3 separate regions of the Homo sapiens genome follow, and all the other regions are linked to region 3. The links are contacts of gene promoters, found by promoter capture Hi-C in human tissues and cell types (Jung and others, 2019). All regions are on one chromosome and are shown on one strand. Each heading gives the region's core, a stretch centred on a gene start or on the middle of the fragment in contact. The rest is flanking DNA. Distances are from core to core; before and after follow the strand shown. Region 1 overlaps LOC107986743 (a long non-coding RNA gene). Region 2 overlaps GNAI1 (G protein subunit alpha i1). Region 3 holds the start of GNAI1 (G protein subunit alpha i1).

Region 1 (3,097 bases), core at 89-2,588, 110 kb before region 3:
TATTGATAATAACTCTTTTAACCAATTCCCAATCAGGAAATCTTTGACTCCACCTATGACCTGGAAGCCTCCACTTCCAGTTGTCCTACCTTTTGGGACTAAACCAATGTACATCTTACATGTATTGATTGATGCGTTATGCCTCCCTAAGATGGATAAAACCAAGCGATGGCCCGGCCACCTTTGGCACATGTTCTTAGGACCTCCTGAGGGCTGTGTCACAGGCCAGTGGTCATTCATATTTGACTCAGAATAAATCTCTTCAACTATTTAGAGAGTTTGACTTTTTTCATCAACAGTGAGAGGAAAACTTCTGGATGGGCAGAGCTCCCAGTAATGGACTTGGTCAGCCATTTTGTATGGAACGAGAAACAGCCTGAGGTAAGTGGCACAAACCTGAGATTGAGTGGCTCCTTAAATGTTGCATTCTAGGGGACCCTCTTGCCTCACACTACTCCTGGTCCTGTCTGAGATTAAGGGATCTACTGTTCCTATGATATCCTGCCCAACTCAGAAGCAATCAGCTTGGTAGAGATAAATTGGCCTCTTTAAAAAAAAAAAGAGAGAGAGAGAGAGAGAGAAAGGGGTCTTTCTGTGTTACCCAGGCTGGAGTGCACTGACTGTTCACACATGTGATCCCACCACTGGTCAGCACAGGAGTTTTGACCTGCTCCATTTCCAACATGAGCTGGTTCACCACTCCTTAGGCAACCTGTTGGTCCCTGTTCCTGGGAGGTCTCCATGGTGACACTGAACTTAATGTGGACACCCAATTGGCATATCACAGTACAGCCCAGAACTCAGAAGCTCAAGCTATGCTCCTGGCCTCAGCCTCCCAAGCAGATGGGACTCCAGGTGTGGACTACCACACCTGGCAGATTGGCTTCTTAAAAGCCTAGCTGAGGTGCCAGCTTAGAAAGGATACCCTATGAGAATGGGCATCACCATCCAGGGTGTCACATACAGCCTAAATCAACAATCATCATATGGAGCTTTGTTCCCCAAAGGTAGAATTCAAGGGCTTGGGAACTGAAAGATTAAAGTTGTAGTGGCCCTGGAAACCATTACACCCAGTGATCCACTTGGAGGGAATTGGCGTTTTCCCCTATATGTTTTAGATTCTACATGTCTGGAAATTCTGGTTCCTATAACAGTACCATTGAATTTTAGACTACTACTGCTATTCAGTCTTCCAGAATCCTTGTGCCAAGAAACCAGCAGGGAAGGAAAGGAGGCACCACCCTGGAAGAGGTAATTGATACGGTCTTCAGGAGGAGGAAGGGCAGCTGCTACCCCATGAGGGCAGGATGGGATATGTTTGGGCCTCTTTGGTGCTGCCATGCCCAGTTTTAATCCTATATAGGAAAATACATCTGCCATGGCCTGAGAATAGCAACCAGGAGCTCATACTGCTCAAGAATGATGGTGTGCATCACCTAATGAGGCAAACTTCCTAGATCAATGGAAGTGTGAGCTGAGGGAGAGGAGAACCTCCAATGGATGGTACAGGAAGATGGTATCAGTTATAGTTTTGAAATCAGCTGCAGCAACAGGGGCTGTAGTTCATCCAACTGACACTTCTTTTCATAATTTCCCAGGAAACAAGACTAATCAGGATCCTGGAAAGCTTTGCCCTGGTAGGAAGATAGAATTTAGGAAGGAAGTAGCTGTGAACCTCTCAAAGTTTAGGTGTAGTGCATACTATGTTGCTTATACAGACCCTCTCTGTAGAGCCAATTACCTCATTCCTTCTCTGGGAATTGCCATCCGTCAGAGGCAGGTGCCCCCATTTGCAGAACTGCCATGCAAGAGGCAGCCCAGGTCAATGACTGTATGGTGAGGAGATTTGTCTTAATTGGAAGAATTCCAGTCCTTCCCCACAGGATCAACTGAGGCCTCAGGAGGAAACACATTGGAGATCTCCTTCCCCCTGTTTAATCCTGCCTGCCTCGTGTCCTTATTAGAGCATCTCCTAGGAGCATGTACAACAAACCCTTTGGCCCAAATTCTCTGTCTCAGAATCTGTCTCTAGGGACTGAGTCTAAGACATGGGGCCAAACAACAAGCTGCTATAAGCAGAAGTGACTGCAGGAGAAGCAGCCAAGAGAGTAACAATAGGAAGCTGTTTCAGTCAAAAAGAGGCAAGAAATACGGTGGAAGCTCCAAGAGCTAGAGGGGTTGAGAGAGGTTTTATTTCCTTATTGTTGGTTGTTTGTTTAAGACAGAAAAGGCTTAAGGATGCTTACATGTTGACAGAATGGAGGGGGAGGGACAGGAGATACAGAAAAATATATGAGAAAAATAAATTGTATGAGGTTACAGAGGGGACAGGAAGAGTGGGAATCACAGGCTCAAGTGGAAAGTTAAGGCTTAACCTTATTTAGACGGGATGACTTAAAAATCTGACTTAATGTTTTGCAAATGGTTAGTCACTCATTTCAACACTGTTCTTGACCAGTTTCTTCTTTCCCCACTTATATAAATTGCTACTTTTAGCACAAACTAAATTATATATGCCTGAGTTTATTTTTAGGCTCATCTATTTCATAACCTCTTTATTCCTCATCCAATAATAAATTGATAAAATTACCGTAGGTTTATATGACATTTTGCTCAATGGTAGGGTAAGACATTCCTTCTCATTATCCTCTTCTTTTAAAATTTTAAATTTATTTTCTATATATCACATACTTTTCTTTTTAAGTTTATTATCATGATGTTTTACTTTTACTTGCTATTCAAAATTATTCCGTTACATTTTCAAGGTTTTGATTGTTGAGATGGGGTGATTAAAGGTTTTATTATTAATTGATCTTTTATTGATCCCCTTATGGAATTCAATGAGTTTTTACATTTGTTCATTTTCCGCATTTTTTAAAAAATTAGTAATTTTTTACTTTTCAATAATTAATATTGAATTTAGTTCTCACTAACCTTATTATAAGAGTCAGAACCTACCATATTTTTTGAGATGGAGATTTGAGTGCAGGAAGATTTGGGGGAATTGCTCTTGAAATCAACACCTGTGAGAAGGAATAGAGGAAAACAGGACTGGGCAGCCGAAAAAATGTGTTGTTGTGCAATCTCAATAAAGTCC
Region 2 (3,188 bases), core at 504-3,003, 86 kb before region 3:
AGCACCTTTAAGTTAGGCCAGGCTAAGCTACATTTGGTAGGTTAGGTGTATTAAATGCATTTTCAAAATAAGGTATTATCAACTTACAGTGGGCTTTTCAGGACTTAACCCACGGTAAGTCAAGGAGCACCTGTACTTTCTTCTAGGTGACAACTTCTTTTACTAAAAGTGGCACTCTTATCTGCTAAAATAGTCTCTGTCTAGTATTCTATGCATGTTTCCTCAAATTATCTCATTTTTAATCAATTAAAAATATTTTGGCCAGGTGCGGTGGCTCACACCTGTAATCCCAGCACTTTGGGCGGCCGAGGTGGGCGGATTACCTGAGGTCAGGAGTTCGAGACCAGCCCGACCGACATGGAGAAACCCCGTCTCTACTAAAAATACAAGATTAGTTGGGTGTAGTGTCGCATGCCTGTAATCCCAGCTACTCGGGAACCTGAGGCAGGAGAATTGCTTGTACCCGGGAGGCGGATGTTGCGGTGAGCCGAGATCGCACCATTGCGCTCCAGCCTGGGAAACAAGAACGAAACTCTGTCTCAGGAAAAAAAAAAAAAAAAAAATTAAATTTGAAGAACTAGCTCCTTCAATGACAGTGTTTCCATCCACTTTACGGATGGAGACCTAGGAAGACGGGCAGTAAAATCAAAGAAGCTGGAAATATTTGACCTTATACACAATACTCAGGAAGATTTATTACATGGTGGGACTATTCCAGTTGAGGCCTAATCAGCTCTGGCTTGGACAATTGCAGCTGATTCCTGTCTGTGCATATTTGGGTGTCTCTGGCCTCTGGACTTGATGAAATGTGAAATTTCGTAACTTTTAAAGTAACTACAAAATCCAACTAAATAAGAGAAATCACAACAGACACCAAAGCAAACAGTAATTGGTTTAAAAAAATGCCTGGGAAACAGGCCAGTGGGATTGTGAAACGTAAACTTCTTTATATAAATGCATTTCAACTGTTAAGAAAGGGTTTTGAAAAGAACTAAAAAAGAAAACTGGCTGGGCGCAGTGGCTCACGTCTGTAATCCCAGCACTTTGGGAGGCCGAGGCGGTCAGATCACAAGGTCAGGTGATCAAGACCATCCTGGCCAACATGGTGAAACCCCCCTTTACTAAAAATACAAAAATTAGCTGGGTGTAGTGGCGCATGCCTGTAATCCCAGCTACTCGGGAGGCTGAGGCAGGACAATTGCTTGAACCATGGAGTTGGAGGTTGCAGAGAGTGGAGATTGCACGACTGCACTCCAGCCTGGTGAAGGAGCAAGACTCCATACCAAAAAAAAAAAAAAAAAAAAAAAAAGAAAATTTCCAACCTAACATTAAAATATAAACTCTCTCATACTATTGGTTACATTAAAACGACAGAAGTGTCCTCAAGTTGATTAGAGATTGCATTTTCTCATTTTCCAGTATCAATATGTGAGACACTTAGTTTTCATTATGAAAACGAATTATGAGAGTTTTGTTTTTGAGGCATTTCATTCAAAGCACGTATCAACAACCATTTGTTAAGCACTGATTATGATTTTAAAGGCACCTTAAAACTATTATTTATAATCAAATAACAGCAAATTGTATTGACGGCTTATACATTCCACACTCCCCTCTAGGTACTTAACATGTACTGTGAACTTATTTAATGCTGACAACAACCATTAAAATTAATGGATTATTTAATCCTTATTTATTTTCAGATGATATAAATGGAGGCAGAGCAAAACTAAATTATTTGCCCAGATTTTCCCAGTTAATAAGAAATTGAGCCAGGATTTGAAGCCAGACGGGGTGCCAGAGCCTAGGATTTTCACCATCACTTTCTACTTCCAACATAACACACTAAGCAATGATGATGCTACCATCTGTAATAATGATTACAGTATCAACTAAATTCATTTACATAAGGTGGTTCTGCAAACGGCAAATGATGTAAAAAATGGTAACTGTGCTCTTAAGTAGCTTCACATCTAAGGAGTAAAAAATAGCTCTGATGAAAGACATTAATAAGTATCTCCTTTTTTAAATCTGAAAAACTATTATGGCTCAGAGGAACTCAAGGGCAGAGTGGGGATAGGCGAAACACTACTTACACATTTTCTGGAAATAAGGTAGCATCTTTGGGGTCCTCTGACAGACATGGAGTCAGAAGCTCTAGGTTTAAAACCTTCATCTGGTCTTGCTCAAGTTAATTAACCTCTTTAAGCCTTTTTTGATCTCTAGTTACTGTCAGTATTCAATGAGAACATATGGATTTTAATCAGTACTTTTTCAGTAACAAACTGAATTCGATTAAACTAGATTAGGCATAAAAAAGTAGACTTTTAGAAGGTTACTGAAATGAAGAGAATTTTAGAAACCACAAGCGCCTTAGGGACTTTAAGAATGGCAACTGGGACAATGATTGGCTCACTCGTCCAATGCTGGAGGACTCGGATTGGTCAGGTCTAAGCCTAGAGACGGAGAAGTAAGAAATGCGATTGGCAGCTCTATCAGAATCATGTAGTTCCCAGAAGGGCACCCTGAAGAACAGATGCCAGAGGAGTCTAAAAGAGGTATCACAAACAAATTTAAAAGTGCCAAATTTAAAAGTGCCAATACATTTTACACACCATTTTAAAAGTGCTAATAAAAATAACATTGACAGACACAAATGAACACTTCCCACATTGTAGGCACTGCTCTAAGCATATCACATGTAGTAAGTAATACAGTACTTGGAGGAAAGCCCAGGTTATGCACAGGACACTATTTGGATACAGTGTAGAAAGGAACAGGCCTCAGGTGATGAAGAGCATTAAATGGCAGGCTAACTTATACTTAATTTTATTGACAAATCAGAGCCAATGCAGATCAAGGAATAGAAGGTGATAGGGCCACAGTTCTACATTAGGATAACTAACCTGGGTTTTTCGAGAAGAGAGAAATGGGAGGTGGGGAATTTAACTAATAATGCCATTTTAAGAGGAAGTTTAGCAAAGACTTGAATAGGTAGTAGTAGGAATAGAAAGGAAAACAAACAAAAAACAGATTTAAGGCTTTGTAGAACTGTCAGTAAATTGAAATGGAGATTAGGAATCAGAAGAGTTCCACCTAATGCATGCAGGGCTTAAAACTTAGATGACAGGTTGATAGGTGCAGCAAACCACCATGGCACATGTATACATATGTAACCAACCTGCATG
Region 3 (2,896 bases), core at 293-2,792:
GTGCAACATTTCTTTTTTATTATAACTGGTATAAAAATACAAGCAGTCCTTGGAAATGCAAATGAAGATTCTGAGAAATTTTTCATCTATCTAAATACCTAGAGTGTGAGAAGAAAACATGCAAACAAAAGAAAACCCTAACTCACGAATCTTAACCTGTAAAGATTTTCCTAATGCTTCCCTCAGTGAAAACCCTGGTTTACTCTTTATTTTCTTCCCCGTCAAACATTTGGAAAAGACCTCCACGTAGCGTTTCACGAACAGAACAGTGCTAAGAACAAATAAAAGCCTTGCGTGTACCTGGCAAATCTCATTCATCAGAAACGGTGGCAGCGGAGACAGAACCCTGTTGTCTGGCGTGACCCTCTCGCTCTTTCACAGCAGTTTTCACCACTCGAGTATCTGCCTTGCCTACTACTAAAGCAAAGCTTCCCAACCCCACTTGGGTGGCTTCCATGCCCCCACAGCAAGAAAAATCAAGCATCCAGCGCAGCCTTTTCTCAGCGCAGGGGGAATGTAATCAGCGCTCCTTGACCACTTAAGGAGTCGCCATAGGAAGTTAACAGGAAAGACGCTTCAGCCCCATCTCAGAGGCCCCACAAAAGGTGCACTGATTTCACCAAACGTGGCACTCTGGGCATGAGAAAACCACAGTCGAAACACAACCTACACCGCACACGAAGAAGGGTTTTCCGGGAGGGGGTTGGTGGCGCGGGGGGGGGGGTGTTTTCATTTTCTAGCCGCGAATGCCCCTTCATCTTTACAAGGCTGAGCTAAACTTCAAAGCAAAGGGTTTCCACGCGACCCGCCGCCTCGGACTCGCGCCTGGGCTCTTTGCTGGGTCGCACGAAAGCATCCGAGTGAAGTGACGCGCCCGCCCCGCCGCGGGGAGTCCTCGCCCGCCGGGGCGGAGAGAGACCAGACACCGGGAGAGGGGGACCCGCCTTGCCTCCGCACCGCCGGACCCAGCTCCCGCTCAGAAGCCTCCTCGGGCGCTTCCTCCCCCTTCCCTCCGGGTTTCCAAACGCCGAGGGCCGCGCAGCGCCGCACCCGGTCCCCCGCCGACCCCCGGGCCCCGACCCGGCCGCCCTTACCGAGCAGCAGCAGCTTGACCTCGCGCGCCGCCTTCTCGCCGTCCTCACGGAGGTTGCGGTCGATCATCTTACTCCGCTCCACCGCCGCCTTGTCCTCGGCGCTCAGCGTGCAGCCCATGGTGCCGAAAGCGAGAGCCTGCCGCCGCTCCCTCCGCGCCCGAGTGCGGGCTCCAAGCACAGGGGAATCCTTTCTCTCTCCTAGCGGGCGTTCGAACGCCTCCCGACGGGGGCCACGCCGCCCCCACCACTTCCTAAGCGGAGTCGAGGGAGACGCTGTCCGCAAAGGGGCAGACAGCAACGGGCGGCTGTTCCTCACGACCAGGCTCTGCTTCCCGGCCCGGCTCAGCGCCCCCAAGTCCCGGGTTTGGGGTTTTGAATCTCTGGGTACAGTGGCCGCTGCACTCCCGCCGGTGGCCGCGCCGCAGCCTCGCCAAGCCCAGCCGAGCTCGGCCTCCGCGCGCCGCCGCGGCCCCGCCCCTGCCCGCCCCTCCCACCACCCCGCGACCACTCCCAGAGCGCGCGCCCGCGCACGTGCCCTCGGACAGCGCCCCCCGGCCCCGGACCCCGGCGCCGCGCCACCACTGAGGGCCTGGCGCCCCCTGGCAGCGTCCCCGGGGCGCGCCACTGCCCCGCGGGGCTGTGGCCTTCTGCCCTGGGCGGGAGTGGGGTAATTTCTTTCCGTTTACTCACACGGAGGGAGCTGTGCGTACCTGCCCCTTCGGGTGGGGGTGGGAGAGCTGCCAAAGTTGCCGAAAAAAGCCAGTTCTGGGCGTTTGAGCATGCCCAGCGCCGGCAGCCACGCAAGGTTTTTCAAAATGCAAATCCCTGTCGGCTGGTTTCAGGGCCGTGAGAAACAGGGAACTGGGGAAGGAATGGAGCCTGGTGAAACCAGAGATGGGCACAGTGGAGAACAGGAAAGTCGGGGGAGGGGACTAGAAAAGGGCACCAAGGTCACTTTCTTCCTACCTTTTGCTTCTCTTTCCTTCTTCCTATCCCTCCCTCTTTCCTTGCACTCTCACGTTTTTCACAAGAACGCATTTTGAAGGATTTCCTCGTAACCTAAAAAAAATGGAAGACAAATAATCAAAAGTATTTTTAAATGACAAGAGCAATAAAACACACCCACACAAGCCAATCTCCACATCGTAGCAGATCTCCTCTAGAGCAGCACATAAGCTTCCATGCCAAATTTGGAGCCAATATTTATGACCGTGTTTGTAACTCCTGTACCATTGGGCATGCCATTTTTACAGGCCTTAGCTTCTTTGCCCATAAAATGAGGAGTGGATCTATGGTGCTATCTCCCCATCCTTCCAGCTGTAACAATCGGCGGAGATAAGTTCCTGTGGCCCGCGGGAGGCATTGCTACTCAGCACCCAATGAATGAGCAGAGGCTTAAGATCTCATCTCTCCCTGTCAGTTGCACTACACCTTTCCCCTACAGATATCACAGGAAGCGTTAACTGATTAGAAAATGGGGCTGGTAGCAAGGAAAAACATGGTCCTTGATGTACTAAAAATTGGAACATGCTCCCTGGTTTTCATCTGGAAATCTTATTCTCTAAAAATCATTTGGGAAAACTGGGCTTGAGTTTTCCAAGGTGAGGCTGAACTGATGATACAAGCAGAATAGCTTTCGAGTAGGTCACTGAGACCACGCTTGTGAGCTAGCAGAGACTGAGTTGCCTCCTTATGGGACATGTCCTTTCCTGTTCTCCTATGGGAGTCACACCACCTGCTGGGCTGATGAGATGCAATTTCAAGATCTGCCTCAACTATAATCTTTTGTAATATAACAACAA

The links. The method cuts DNA at HindIII sites, captures the fragments that hold promoters and counts their contacts. A contact is called where the count stands out against the background at its distance.
Region 1: a contact is called between a fragment that was not itself captured here and the fragment with the promoter of GNAI1 in region 3, in 2 of the 25 tissues and cell types used here (dorsolateral prefrontal cortex and stomach).
Region 2: a contact is called between a fragment that was not itself captured here and the fragment with the promoter of GNAI1 in region 3, in 2 of the 25 tissues and cell types used here (IMR-90 fibroblasts and hippocampus).

The regions. Positions count from the first base shown.
Region 1 is chr7:80,243,705-80,246,801 of GRCh38, reverse strand. It overlaps LOC107986743 (a long non-coding RNA gene), which reads left to right. Exons shown (of 3, transcript XR_001745025.2): 2 at 300-381; 3 at 1,171-1,271. It also overlaps the pseudogene RN7SL869P. Among named protein-coding and RNA genes, the nearest start is that of GNAI1, 110 kb to the right of the region's middle. The HindIII fragment of the contact is 6,730 bases long and covers 1-3,097 here.
Region 2 is chr7:80,219,758-80,222,945 of GRCh38, reverse strand. It overlaps GNAI1 (G protein subunit alpha i1), which reads right to left. Exons shown (of 8, transcript NM_002069.6): 8 at 1-3,188. Among named protein-coding and RNA genes, the nearest start is that of GNAI1, 87 kb to the right of the region's middle. The HindIII fragment of the contact is 7,127 bases long and covers 1-3,188 here.
Region 3 is chr7:80,133,477-80,136,372 of GRCh38, reverse strand. It overlaps GNAI1 (G protein subunit alpha i1), which reads right to left and starts at 1,542. Exons shown (of 8, transcript NM_002069.6): 1 at 1,095-1,542. The coding sequence starts at 1,212. The HindIII fragment of the contact is 3,503 bases long and covers 1,350-2,896 here.